Regions from separate parts of the Homo sapiens genome. Here regions 1, 2, 3 and 4 are each linked to region 5. Evidence: promoter capture Hi-C in human tissues and cell types (Jung and others, 2019). All regions are on one chromosome and are shown on one strand. Each heading gives the region's core, a stretch centred on a gene start or on the middle of the fragment in contact. The rest is flanking DNA. Distances are from core to core; before and after follow the strand shown.

Region 1 (2,700 bases), core at 135-2,634, 500 kb after region 5:
CTCATACCCGCCACCAGCTTGAGAAGTAAAACACAGTTATTGCGTACCTGGCCCCATCCTCCCCAGAGCTAACCACTGTCATGAATGTTTATACACCTTTGCTGCATGTGTATATAGATGAGGATAATTTTCTTTCATCTGCTTTAGAACTTTATATAAATGACATTGTACTGCAAGCATGCTTTTTTAATTAAAATTTTTATTTGAAACAATTTCAGAAAGTTGAAAAGTTTTTTAAAACATACAAGTACCATTTGTATATCATTCGCCAGATTTCATAGTTGTTCACATTTCACTATATATACTTAATTATTCTCTGTGTATGTGGGTGTGTGTATATATATGAAGTGGTGTACATATGTAACATTTTAACACTCTTTTGAAATATTTGAGAATAGATTGAAGACATGAAGCTTCTTACCTCTAAATATTTCACTGTGTGTTTAAGACCAAGGACATTCTTGTACATAACCACGTCTTATACATAACCACAGTACAAATATCAAAGTCAGGAAATTAACATCAATGTGATACTATTATTATTTTATCCTCATCCCTTACAGAAATTTCAACAATTGTCCCAGTAATGTTCTTTATAGCAAATGAAAAACAAATGGTTGTTTGAGTTTTGGTCCTGGATTCAATCTGGGATCATGGGGCGCATTTAGTTCCAGTTTCTTAATCTGGAAGAGTTCTGCCGTCTTTCTTTTTCTTTCTTGAATCGGACATTTTTGACGAGTACAGGCCTGCTATTTTGCAGCATGTCCCTCAGTTCTGGTTTGTCTGAGGTTCCGCATAGATTAGATTACACAGTGTTGTCCAAAATACTACGGAAGCCATGTTATGTCCTTCTCAGTACCTCATATCAGGAGATTTGCGCATTGCTGGTTGGTGTTAACTCATTGCTTGATTAAGGTGGTTGCCTGCCAGGTTTCTCTACTGGAAAGTACTGTTTATTTTTTCTAATTAATAAGTATCTCATGAGGTGGTACTTGGGGACTGTGTGAATATCTTGTTTCTCATCAGGCTTAAAAATTTTGAAAAACAGCTTTATTGTGATGTAATTCACGTGCTGTACAAGTCACCATTTAGAGTGTACAATTCAAAGGTTTTTAGTATATTCACATAAATGTGCCCCCATTGATTTTAAACATTTTCAAAACCTCCAGAAGAAATGCCATGTTATGTAGCCATCACTTCACTATCTCCCCATCCACACTCCCCACCGCCAGCCCTCTGCAAACATTAATCCACTTAGAGTCTCTATAGCTTTCTCTGTTCTGGACCTTTGTAAGAATGAAATCGTATAATATGTGGCCTTTGGTAACTGTCTTCTTTCATTTAGCATCATGTTTTTAAGGTTCATCCACATTGTAGCATGCAGCAGTGCTTCATTCTTTTTTATGGCTGAATAATATTTCATTATATGGATATAACTCATTTGGCTTCATTATATGGATATAACTCATTTGGCTATTATTAACCATGATGCTATAAACATTTGTGCACATGTTTTTGTGTAGACATATTTTTTTTCATTTCTTTTTTGGGTATCCACCTGAGTAAAATTGCTGGGTCACATGGTAACTCTGTGTTTCATTACTTGAGGAACTGTTAGACCTAGACCATTTTCCACAGTGGCCACACCAATTTACATTCTTACCAGCAGGGTATGAGGGTTCCAGTTTCTCTGTCAACACTTGTTATTATCTGACTTTCAGATTCTCATCTTCCTCCTGGGTATTAAAGTGTCATCTCTTTATGGTTTTGATGTGAATCTCCCTGATAGCTAATAATATCAAGTGTCTTTGTGTGTATATTTGTATATTTTCCATTTGTATTTCTTCCTTAGAGAAATGTCTATTCAGAGGCTTTGCCTATTTTTAAATTGGGTTACCTGTCCTTTTTATTATTAAGTTGTAAGAGTTCTTTATATATTCTAGACATAAGTTCTTTATCAGATATATAATTTGCAAATATTTTATCCTATTCTTCCACAGTTTCAATTTTTTTGGTGTCCTTTGAAGCACAAAAGTTCTGTGTTCTGAAGAAGCCCCATGTGTCTATTTTTTATTTTGTTGTTCATGCTTTTGATGTCATATCTAAAAAATGCTTTGCCAATCCAAGGCCGTGAATGTTTATACCTATGTTTTCTTTTAAGAATTTTAGTTTTAACTCTTTCATTTAGCTCTTTGATCCATCTGTTTTGAGTTTATTTTTGTATATGGTGTGAGATAAGGATTCAATTTCATTCTTTTGCATGTGACTAGCTAGTTGTCCCAGCTTCATTTGTTGAAAAGACTATTTTTTTCCCAGTTGAATGGTTTTGGTGCCATTGTCAAAAGTCAATTGATGACAGCTGTATGGGTTTATTTCTAGGCTGTCATTTCTATTCTATTGATCTGTACGTCTCCTTTGTGCTAGTACCACATTGTCTTGATTACCATTGCTTTGTAGTAAATTTTGAATTCAGAAAGTGTGAATCCTCCTACTTTGTTCTTTTCTTAGTATTGTTTTGGCTATTCTGTGTCTCTTACAGTTTCATATGAATTTTAGAATCAGCTTGACAATATCTACAAAGAAGTCAGCTGGAATTCTCACAGAGATTGAATTGACTCTGTAGAGCAGTTTGGAGAGTACTGATATCTTAACGATGTTAAGTTTTCTGACCCATGAACATTGAAGTTTTTCCATTTATTT
Region 2 (2,783 bases), core at 186-2,685, 470 kb before region 5:
CAGAATCAGGACTGGCCCAGTCAGTGACTCCGGGGCCTGTACCCTCACATCTGGCATAGCTTGCTGGGGATACCCTACAGTGGGAGTTCTCTATAGCAGGCTGCAGCCTGTTACTAAGCCATGAAATCATTTAGTACATTATGAACAGTATTGAAATAATAAGATAGAAAACAGGATTTTGTAAACAGTAAGTGTAAGTATTATATCAGGAAAGACATGTTCCTTTCATACACACACAAGTGCTGGAGCACAATGTAAAAAAAATCTATGGGCAAAAAGGTATGGAAAACCCTTTGGTTCTAGTGCACACACATATACAGGAAGCAAGCATTTATGGCAAATTACATTATTCAGTCATAACTAATTTGTTCCCAGGGAAGGTGATTGTTAATGTGGCGGTTTTACATGTTTCAGAAACAAAAATTGTAAATGCTATGTGATCATTTGCCCCACCTATACCGTTAGGGGTCACCAGAGTCACCAAGGACCATGCATTGCTGATGGGATGCCTGAGAGATCTCTGGATTTGCCCAAAGACTTGGAGACTTTTCCCAAACACTTCGTGAATTTTCCAAGATCTATTCACATTCTTTGGCCAAGTTTTTCTAGGACCAAGAGTAAAGAATCAAGAAACAGTTTCAAGAAATAAGGCGGCCAGGCGCGATGGCTCACGCCTGTAATCCCAGCACTTTGGGAGACTGAGGCAAGTGGATCATGAGGTCAGGAGATTGAGATCATCCTGGCTAACACAGTGAAACCCCGTCTCTACTAAAAATACAAAAAATTTAGCCAGGCATGGTGGCGGGCGCCTGTAGTCCCAGCTACTCAGGAGGCTGAGGCAGGAGAATGGCGTGAACCCAGGAGGCGGAGCTTGCAGTGAGCCGAGATTGCGCCACTGCACTCCAGCCTGGGCGACAGAGCGAGACTCTGTCTCAAAAAGAAAAAAAAAAGAAATAAGGCTTTGGGTTGGGCATGGTGGATCATGCCTGTAATCCCAGCATTTTGAGAGGCTGCAGTGAGAGGACTGCTTGAGCCCAGGAGTTCAAAATCTGCCTGGGCAACACTAAGACCCCATCTCTACAAAAAACAAAAAGTTAGCTGGGCATGGTGGTGCACACTTATAGTCCCAGCTACTCAGGAGACAAAAGCAGAAGGTCTGCTGGAACCCAGGAGTTTGAGACTAGCTTGGGCAACACAGCGAGATCTCATCTTTAATACACAAATAAATAATTTTGTTTTCTGTTTTTAAGACAGGGTCTCACTCTGTTGCCCAGACTGGAGTACAGCAGCAATCAAAGCGATCCTCCTGCCTCAGCCTCCTGAGTAGCTGGGACTACAGGTGCACACTACAACTTCCAGATATATTTTTAGTTTTTTCCTCTGGAGAGAAGGGTTCTCACTATGTTGGCCAAGCTGGTTTCTTTTTCTTTTTTTTTTTTGAGATGGAGTCTCGCTCTGTCGCCCAGGCTGGAGTACGGTGGCGCGATCTCGGCTCACTGCAAGCTCCGCCTCCCGGGTTCACGCCATTCTCCTGCCTCAGCCTCCCAAGTAGCTGGGACTACAGATGCGTGCCACCACACCAGGCTAATTGTTTGTATTTTTAGTAGAGATGAGGCTTCACTGTGTTAGCCAGGATGGTCTTGATCTCCTGACCTCATGATCTGCCTGCCTCAGCCTCCCAAAGTGCTGGGATTACAGGCATGAGCCACCATGCCCGGCCAGCCAAGCTGGTTTCTAATTCCTGGCCTCAAGCAATCCTCCTGCTCTGGTCTCCCAAAGCCACTGTGCCTAGCCAAATAGTAATTTTAAAAAAGAAATATGCGGGTTGGATGCAGTGGCTCACGCCTGTAATCCCAGCACTTTGGGAGGCTGAAGCGGGTGGATCATCTGAGGTCAGGAGTTTGAGAACCGCCTGGCCAACACAGTGAAACCCCTACTAAACCTACTAAAAATACAAAAAATTAGCTGGGCGAGGTAGTGCACAACTGTAATCCCAGCTACTCGCGGGGGCTGAGGCAGGAGACTCACTTGAACCCGGGAGGTGGAGGTTGCAGTGAGCCAAGATCGCACCACTGCACTCCAGCCTGGGCGACAAAGTGAGACTCTGTCTCAAAAAAAAAAAAGAAAGAAAAAGAAATACATGTGGTGGCTCACGCCTGTAATCCCAGCACTTTGAGAGGCCGAGGCGGGTAGATCACTCAACCGCAGGAGTTCGAGGCCAGCCTAGGCAACATGGAAAAACCCCGTCTCTACAAAAATACAAAAATTAGCCAGGGGCTGGGCATGGTGGCTCATGTCTGTAATCCCAACGCTTTGGGAGGCCAAGGCAGGCAGATCACCTGAGGTTGGGAGTTCGAGAACAGCCTGACCAACATGGAGAAACCCCGTCTCTACTAAAAATACAAAATTAGCCGGGTATGGTGGCGCATGCCTGTAATCCCAGCTACTCAGGAGGCTGAGGCAGGAGAATCGCTTGAACCCGGGAGGCAGAGGTTGCAGTGAGCTGAGATCACATGATTGCACTCCAGCCTGGGCAACAAGAGTGAAACTCCATCTCAAAAAAATAAATTAATTAAAAAATACAAAAATTAGCCAGGTGTGATGACACACATCTGTAGTTTCAGCTACTTAGAAGGCTGAGGCAGGAGAATCACTCAAACCCGGGAGGCGGAGGTTGCAATGAGCCGAGATTGTGACACCGCACTCCAGCCTGGGCAGATACTTAGGAGACTAAGGTGGGAGGATCACTTGAGCCCAAGAGGTAGAGGCTGCAGTAAACCATG
Region 3 (2,700 bases), core at 11-2,510, 360 kb after region 5:
GAGTAGGGGCAGTGGCAGCAGAGCAGGGGGTGGCGCTGGCAGAGGAGGGAGCTGGGAAGAAGAGCAGGACTCCCTTGGGGCTGGTGTTTGGTGCCAAAGGCCATGAAGAGTGAGCAGAGGGCTTTAATTTGACGGTGTATGAGGTCCTATTATATTAAATTTTATTTTTTTGAGACCGAGTTTTGTTCTTTCATCCAGGCTGGAGTGAAGTGGCACGATTTTGGCTCACTGCAACCTCCGCCTACCGGGTTCAAGTGATTCTCCTGCCTCAGCCTCCCGAGTAGCTGGGATTATAGGCGCCCGCCACCACGCACGGCTAATTTTTGTATTTTTAGTAGAGACGGGGTTTTGCCATGTTGACCAGGCTGGTCTCGAACTCCTGACCTCAGGCGATCCACCCGCCATGGCCTCCCAAAGTGCTGGGATTACAGACGTGAGTCACCGCCCCCGGCGGTCCCATTATATTTTTAAAGTATATATATTGATTTATATTCCACCTTTGTCTAGAATGGGTTTAGATTCCTGAGACATAGATAATATTGTGTCATGAGTTATATATTTAGGGTAAATTATAAGGAAACATAGATTACAGTCAGCTAATGTAAAAGTTTTTAGTGTAAAAAGTGAGCAAGAAGAAGATAGAATGAGGCAGGATCAAAACACAGAATGAGTGACAGGGAATGGGCTGCCCAGCCCGGGGGTGAGTCTCGAGCGGCCGGTGCCAAGAAGGTTGCACAATGGCTGGGCGCCGGGGAGAGGTGTGGAGAAAGGGGCTGAGGGCTTACACGGACAGGCACAGGCTCCACCGAGCAGCCGCGCTAAGGAGCTGTGGGGTGGGGAGCCGTGGGCCCGGGTGTGGGGGCTGCAGAAGACGGAGGGTTGCAGGGCGTTCGTTTACTGCCGTCTGCCTCAGCCATGAAGTCCCATAAATTGGGTGGCTTTACCCAACAGAAATGCACCCTCTCATAGTTCCCGAGGCCCGACCTCCAAGTCCAGGTACCGGCAGGGCCAGGCTTCCGCTGGGGCTCCAGGCGGATCCTTCCTCGCCCCTCCTAGCGTCTGCTATTCACTGCCTGCAGCTGCTTCACTCCCGTCCCTGCTCCATCTTCACGCGGCCTCCCCCAACCTGTGCGTCTCTGTTTTCACGTGGCCTTCTTGCAGAGACGTCAATCACATTGGATTGGGGCCCATCCTACTCCGTTATGACTTCATCTTAACTAGATGACATCGCAAAGCTCCTATTTCCAAATAAGGGCACATGCGTGGGTACAGGGGTTAGGACTTCAACATATCTTTTTGGGGAACACGGATTCATTTTTCTCACTTCCCTAACAAAATATAAACTGCAGGAGGCAGAAAACGTCGCCGACTTACTCACCATTGTGTTCCCAGCATCTCTGGCAGGATGCTGATCGGATAACCAGTGCCCGAAAAAATGTGGTTGTTGAATTTGCTCCCACTTTCTTCACCCCCTAACATCAGGTCAAATCCGGCCTAGAATTCCTAGTGGAAAGACAGGGACGACTCTTCCGCAACACCTCTCAGACCCGTCAGTGTGCTGAGGCGCAGCTTCCCAGAGGGAGGTGTCATCTGCAGCGCTTTGCTTACCCGTTTGACCACGACACCACCGCACCTCCCTGCCCTTTATCTTAGCAGGGCATCTCTGGAGAGAATGTTCCACGGAGCACACCTCGGGAAACACTAGTTTAGCTGCATTGCAGATTGGAGGCAGGGGCAGACTACCTTCTAGACAGAACTTTCCAACTCTTGAAAGATTTCTTCTGAAGAATTATGGCTATATCTCCTCCCCTGTAGCCTCCCCTGCTCTGCCCTCTGCTTTTGGTCTTAAAGCTATTTTAGATCTGAAATACCTTCCCTGGACCTACCATTTGCATTTGGACTTAGATTATTAGACATTTTCTTCTTATAAAAATCAGCAAGTTGTACCTACAAAGTGGGAGCAAATTCAACAACCACACTTTTTCAGGCACTGGTTGTGCGATTAGCATCCTGCCAGGGATGCTGGGAACACAGTGGTGAATAAGTTGGGGACATTTTCTGCCTCCTGAAGTTCATATTTTGTTGGGGGAGAGAGAAAAATAAATTCATGTACTAGTCTGCTCAGGCTGCTGTAACAAAATACCATAGACTGGGTGGCTTTAACAGAAGACATTGATTTCTAACAGTTCTGGAGGCTGGGAAGTCCAAGATTAAGGCACTGGCAGATTCGATTCCTGATGATGGCTCTGGCCTGGCTGCCAGGTGGCTGCCTTCTCATATGGTGGGAGCCTTTGCCTTCACCTTCTCCTCCTCCTCCTCCTCCTTCTTCTCCTCCTTCTCTCCTTCCCTCCTCCTCCTTCTTCTTCTCCTCCTCCTCCTTCTCTTCTTCCCTCCTCCTCCTCTTCCTTCTTCTTCTCCTCCTCCTCCTCTTCTTTCTCCCCTTTCCTCCTGCTCCTCCTCCTGCTCCTTCCTCTTGTTCTTGTTCTTTTCTTCCTCTTGTTCTCTCTCTCTCACTCTCTCCCTCCCTCCCTCTCTCCTTATGAAGCCATTAATATAATCATGAGGACACCTACCTTCATGACTTGTCTCATATTAATTAGCTTCTGAAGATCTCACCTCCAAATACCATAGCATTGGGGGTTGGGGCTTCAACCTATTAATTTTGGGGAAATACAATTCAGTCCATAGCAGTCAGTAAAT
Region 4 (2,745 bases), core at 212-2,711, 380 kb after region 5:
AGGTTGAAGAAGAAGCCAAATTCTTGCAACACTACTTCTGTTTTATATTCAGGTTTATATCACTGTTCTGGAAGGACTTATAACAACAATCTGTGCTCTTTTAGGCTCTTCTGATTCTTGAACTGAACCTTCAGATCAGCAAGTCTGCATCTTCATCTGGGGGTAGAGGTGAAGGAGGGTTGGTGTTAAGGAAGGCAGAATCGGTATTGAGTCGTCTTCAGACACTCTCTCTCCCTCTCACTTTTTGTTATTTGAGAAAATCTGTATCTCTACGGGCTTACGATAGCCTGTCTCTGAGACAACAATGACACCCTCAAAGTTTTAACCCTGTTTCTTTAGGCTGGCTATGTCCTTCATTGAAAGATTGCTGACCTCTCAAAGAATAAAATAAAAGTCTAAAAATTTATGATGAGACTTTTGCCACTGGCTGTGATGGAATAACTAGGACTAGATTCATCCTCTTGCTACAAACAATGATAAAACTGGATAAAACCTGTGAAATAAATATTTTCAGCTATTAGATGATCGTCAGAGTAGGACTGTGGTTGCTAAGAGAAGACTGTAAACCATACAATCACTTTGTATTTCTGCATGGAGGCATTTCAAGACTGTATCTTCAGGGAGGTATTCCAAGAAGAGTACAGTGATCTTGTTGAGCTGAGGAGACAGATATCAGAGTTTGGAGAGGTTGATACATCTAGAATTTGCAGGGCAGAATATCATACAGGAGAAGGCCTGGCAAAGAAAGTGCTCTAGAAACTTTTATGGCTCTCCTGGGATGTTCTGTTGACTACTAAACCATTGATGAGTGAGGTGAAACCCCACAAAACTGGACAAAGTGCACATAGGGGCTATAAAATTCACAGAGCTCATACAGGACTCGGAGGTATTTGCATTCTGACCAGCCCGACTGGGGAGCTGTCCTTGAATATTTGGGACATTCAGTAGAGACTCCGGAAGGAAGAAGCAATAATAGTAGGGTAACAACATTTCTGGAGTAAAACGTGCTGTAGACCCACCTTTACAGAGATTAAAAATAAGCCTTGAGAGGGTCAGGCTGATCCACAAGTAACTTAAATAACTGCCAGAGTAAAGCCTAAAGCCTAATGCTCTTTAGTTAAAGATATAATTGCTGACAGTTTTCCAAACTTGACAAAAGCTATAAACTCACTGACCTGAGAAGCTCAACACACCCCAAGCAAGGTAAATACAAAGAAACCACAGAATGGCACACACAGTATGATCAGATTTCTTCAAATTAGTGATAAAGATTTTTTTTTTCTTTTTTAAAGACAGAATCTCACTCTGTCATCCAGGCTGGAGTGCAGTGGTCAGTCTTGGCTCACTGCAACCTCCACCTCCCAGGTTCAAGCGATTCTTGTGCCTCAGCCTCCCAAGTAGCTGGAATTACAGGCACACACCATCACGCCTGGCTAATTTTTTTTTTTTTTAAGTAGAAATGGGTTTCACCATGTTGGCCAGGTTGGTCTCAAACTCCTAACCTCAAGCGATCCTCCCACCTCGGCCTCCCAAAGTGCTGGAATTACAGGCATGAGCCACAGTGCCCAGCAAGAAAAAATCTTAAACTCAGCTAGAAGAGGGGAAAAAGACAAATTATAGACAAAGATAAGAATTTTTGCAGACTTCTCATCAGAAATCATGCAAGCTAGAAGACAATGGAATGGGATCTCTTGAGTGCCGAAAGGGGGAACAGTCTGTCAGTGTAAAATTCCGTATAGAGTAAATTATCCTTACATGGTCCTGGAAATTGTTTTACATCTTGAATATGGTGATAGATACATAATACATTTATGTGTTAACATCTACTGGACTTTACATTTAAAATGGGGTACATTTTATTGTATGTAAATTATATCTCCATGATGCTGATTGAAAATAGGTTTTAATCCCTGAAATATGGGATAACACAATTGTAGTAAATGAAGTAATACCTATAGATTCATGGCACACATTAGAGGAAACTGAGGCACAGAGCTATCATGTGACTTCCCCCAAATCATACAACCAAAGGGAGATGGATTAACTTTTTCTATTCTAAAAGAAATGTTTTTTTAATCTCTCAAAATAGGTGGATTCAGGTCTTCTCACAAACTAAAAGGTAGGACATATATTCCTCCAGTGCCTTTCAAACTATGATCTGGCTGGCATCTAGGAAACTTGCTATAAAGACCTCAATACGGCAATTTGATATCTCCTCCCAAATACATGCTGCTTCTCTTTCAGGTATTTTTTCATTCTCCCTCTACCTTTTAGTGTGTTTTCTAGGATTACACATCAGTGAGATTGTAAACATCTTCAGCACTGTGGATTTATTATTATTATTATTATTTGAGACAGAGTTTTGCTCTGTCACTCAGGCTGGAGTGTAATGGCACGATCTTGGCTCACTGCAACCTCTGCCTTCCAGGTTCAAGCGATTCTCCTGCCTCAGCCTCCCAAATAGCTGGGATTACAGGTGACCACCACCATGCCAGGCTAATTTTTGTATTTTTAATAGAGATGGGGTTTCACCATGTTGGCCAGGCTGGTGGATTATTCTTATATCAGTCAGGATCCTCTCAGGAGACAGAAGCATGTTTGGTTATTTGAACAGAAAATTTAATATATAAAGACTTTCTAGCTAGTAGAAGGGTGGTTGATTACTAATGGAGATAAAAGAGAATTCTAAGTGTTTCCAAAATATCAGGGGTAAAGCAGCAGCTGCTATCTCTAGGCTGAGGAAAA
Region 5 (2,716 bases), core at 22-2,521:
TCTAGTAGTGTGACTTTAGACACACTACTTAATCTCTCTATGCCTTGGTTTCCTCAAGTGTAAATCAAGGGCTATCATAATACTTACCTTAAGAGCTATCCTCAGAATTAAATGAGATAACAGTACAAAGTTCATTCAGCATAGTGGTCCCACACAAGATAAGTTTGTATTATTAACATCACATAGACTAATATTTACTGACAACACACACTGAACCCGCTTTGGTTAGCATAGCCAAACTTGGCTAGCTTTCATTACCACTGGAAAACCTGAGAGATGGAATTAGGAATTCTCTGGCAGGGCTGAAAAGTCTGGACCCATCGGCTTAAAGAAACTGATCCACCTCATGACCTGACCCTGGAAGCCTTCTCGCCCTTCACACCTATCTCAACTCCAGACTAGTCAAGAACAAAGGAGTGTAGTGGGGCCCTACTACTGCCAGGCTATGTGAGACTCTCTCATGTTATCTTTTATTCGTTGAGGAGACAGGGTACAAGTGCTTGGTGTGAATGTTGAAGCTGTTGTTAGGGCACCACTTTTCTGGCCTAGGGCTTCTTCCTAATCTGCAGCCTCCGAGCCGAGGGTCTGTGTCCCGGAGGCTCTGCCTGCAATTTCTGGACATCGGGTCCAGGGGAATGAAAGAGGGCATGAGACGCATGCCTCTGAGGCTGGACCCACTTCAGAGGCAGAGCGTCCCCACGAAAGACTCGGGAACCGGAAAAAGCCCTAAGGACGTTCCCTAGTGGCCTTGACCTTGGTGGGTGAGACTCAGTTCGCCATCCTGCTGGCGGCGGGCGATGACACAGCCCCTCAGCCAGGACGAGTATGTGGGCTGAGCGCGAGACGGGGTCTCGGAGGACTGCTAACCCCACTACGGTGGCCTCCTCGGGGCCCCCGTTTCCTCTTGAGCGTGCGGGGGCCTCTGGCCCTACCCGGACACAGTGCACGCGGCGCACTGGCCTTCAGGAGCTGGGGCGGAGGCTGGCCCCGGAACCCCCGGCGGGAGGGTCTGGGCGGTGGGGACGCCTCCATCGGGCGGCTGGCGTGCACGTCGCCGGGGTCACGCGGCCTCCCCGACGGACCCGAGCCTCCCGTGGCGGGGGTGGGGCGGCCACCGCCAGCCCGGCCCTCCCGAACGACCGGGCTCGGCCTCAGCCCCCAGAGCGTCCAGCCGCTGGCCTCACCTCCCTGCGCACGTTCAGCAACGAGTAATAGTCTTCATTGTCCAGCTCCTCCTCGCTCAAGGCCGTCGCCATCTTCGCAACCTTTCACCCCGCCAAACCGGCAAGGCCGTGCTCAAGAGGGGCCAGTGATCCGCGTCAGGGACAGCGCGGGCCAGCCCGGCTGCGCCACAGCGGCCCCTGGCGGCCCGGAGCCGTCCGCGCCCGGCGGGAGTGCGCCTGCGCTTTGCGCCCCCGCGCGGCCTAGGGCGGGACGCGGCGCCTAGGCAGCCCTGGCGGGGTGACCACGCGGGTGTCTCTTCGTGCTCCCAATGGACGCGTGGCACGCGGCGTGGCTGCGTCCTCGGGGGCCTGAGATCCAGCCAGGACTCCCTAGGGCTTTTCCTGTACTAGAAAGGGAAACTTTGCTTTTTTTTTTTTTTTTTGAGACGGAGTCATACTCTGTCGCCCAGCCTGGTGTGTGTGCAGTGGCGCAATCCCGGCTCACTGAAGCCTCCACCTCCCGGGTTCAAGCGATTCTCCTGCCTCAGCCTCCCGAGTAGCTGGGACTCCAGGCGCGCGCCACCACGCCCAGTTAATTTTTTTGTATTTTTGGTAGAGACACGGTTTCACCATGTTGGCCAGGCTGGTCTGAGGCTCCTGAACTCAGGAGATCCTCGGCCTCCCAAAGTGCTGGGATTACAGGCATGAGCCACCGCGTCCTGCCTAGAAAGGGAAACTTTGAAGTCACCTCCAGGAGATTGTCATCCTCTGGGAGACAAACCCCTGTGATACCACCTGTTACCCCACTGGCCCCAAACTCCTGGAAGAAGCGCGAGGTGCCCCCAGTGCAGGGTGCATCCGGATCCTAGATATCCCCCAAATGACATTTGTTCCTACCTCCATTGTCTTTTCTCTTGGCCACCCAGAAGCCTTCCTGCCCAGAACAGGCCTCCTCATTTTAGTTATTTGTTATTGCTCTAATTTAGGAGCACCTGGCCATCTTTTCTGCTGCTTAAATGACAAAGCAATAACTATTTGGTTCCTGATATAATTGTCTCTGGCAGGCATGTGTACCTGCAGTCCCTACCCCAGAGCCATTCTCCTGTAAATTTCTCCCTTATAATTTATCGGTGGAGTCTAATTGATTTCAACCTGGTGCCTGCTGTTTGGTGCATTATTAAAGATGTCTTGGTTACAACAATCTAAATAATTTAAAGGTCTTCGAAATGACGCCATTGTCAAGGGAAGGTGGACAGCAGCCCACTCTTGCCACCTGTTTGGTTCCCGCTGACCTGCGCAAGTCTCAGAAACCTTTGTTGTTCCTTCACTAACCACCAGTCCATAGCCATCCCCGTTGCCCTTCATAAGCAGGTCTCCTGGGAAGCCCCGAACACCTGTCTGTGGATTTGAGAGGCTGATTTCTTTCTCTTTCTAATTTTTGGCCAGATGTGCACCATCTGGGCCTGTGTCTCATCCCTTCCAAGTTGCCCAGCCCTCTTAGGATCTTTTGGCATGAGACACTTCGGTGTGCTGAGACAGATTGTTCGGGTGGG

What was found. The method cuts DNA at HindIII sites, captures the fragments that hold promoters and counts their contacts. A contact is called where the count stands out against the background at its distance.
Region 1: a fragment that was not itself captured here is called in contact with the fragment with the promoter of DNAJC11 in region 5 in 3 of the 25 tissues and cell types used here (hippocampus, liver and mesendoderm cells).
Region 2: a contact is called between a fragment that was not itself captured here and the fragment with the promoter of DNAJC11 in region 5, in 1 of the 25 tissues and cell types used here (liver).
Region 3: a fragment that was not itself captured here is called in contact with the fragment with the promoter of DNAJC11 in region 5 in 1 of the 25 tissues and cell types used here (lymphoblastoid cells).
Region 4: a fragment that was not itself captured here is called in contact with the fragment with the promoter of DNAJC11 in region 5 in 1 of the 25 tissues and cell types used here (lymphoblastoid cells).

What each region holds. Positions count from the first base shown.
Region 1 is chr1:7,199,841-7,202,540 of GRCh38, forward strand. The region is part of intron 4 of CAMTA1 (calmodulin binding transcription activator 1); the gene reads left to right. Among named protein-coding and RNA genes, the nearest start is that of CAMTA1-IT1, 160 kb to the right of the region's middle. The HindIII fragment of the contact is 8,532 bases long and covers 1-2,700 here.
Region 2 is chr1:6,226,922-6,229,704 of GRCh38, forward strand. All of the region lies in intron 4 of ICMT (isoprenylcysteine carboxyl methyltransferase), which reads right to left. Among named protein-coding and RNA genes, the nearest start is that of ICMT, 7.7 kb to the right of the region's middle. The HindIII fragment of the contact is 6,595 bases long and covers 1-2,783 here.
Region 3 is chr1:7,061,765-7,064,464 of GRCh38, forward strand. All of the region lies in intron 3 of CAMTA1 (calmodulin binding transcription activator 1), which reads left to right. Among named protein-coding and RNA genes, the nearest start is that of CAMTA1-AS3, 49 kb to the left of the region's middle. The HindIII fragment of the contact is 9,615 bases long and covers 1-2,700 here.
Region 4 is chr1:7,078,202-7,080,946 of GRCh38, forward strand. The region is part of intron 3 of CAMTA1 (calmodulin binding transcription activator 1); the gene reads left to right. Among named protein-coding and RNA genes, the nearest start is that of CAMTA1-AS3, 65 kb to the left of the region's middle. The HindIII fragment of the contact is 6,035 bases long and covers 1-2,745 here.
Region 5 is chr1:6,700,545-6,703,260 of GRCh38, forward strand. It overlaps DNAJC11 (DnaJ heat shock protein family (Hsp40) member C11), which reads right to left and starts at 1,272. Exons shown (of 16, transcript NM_018198.4): 1 at 1,185-1,272. The coding sequence starts at 1,256. RefSeq lists a silencer at 1,059-1,508. The HindIII fragment of the contact is 19,207 bases long and covers 1-2,716 here.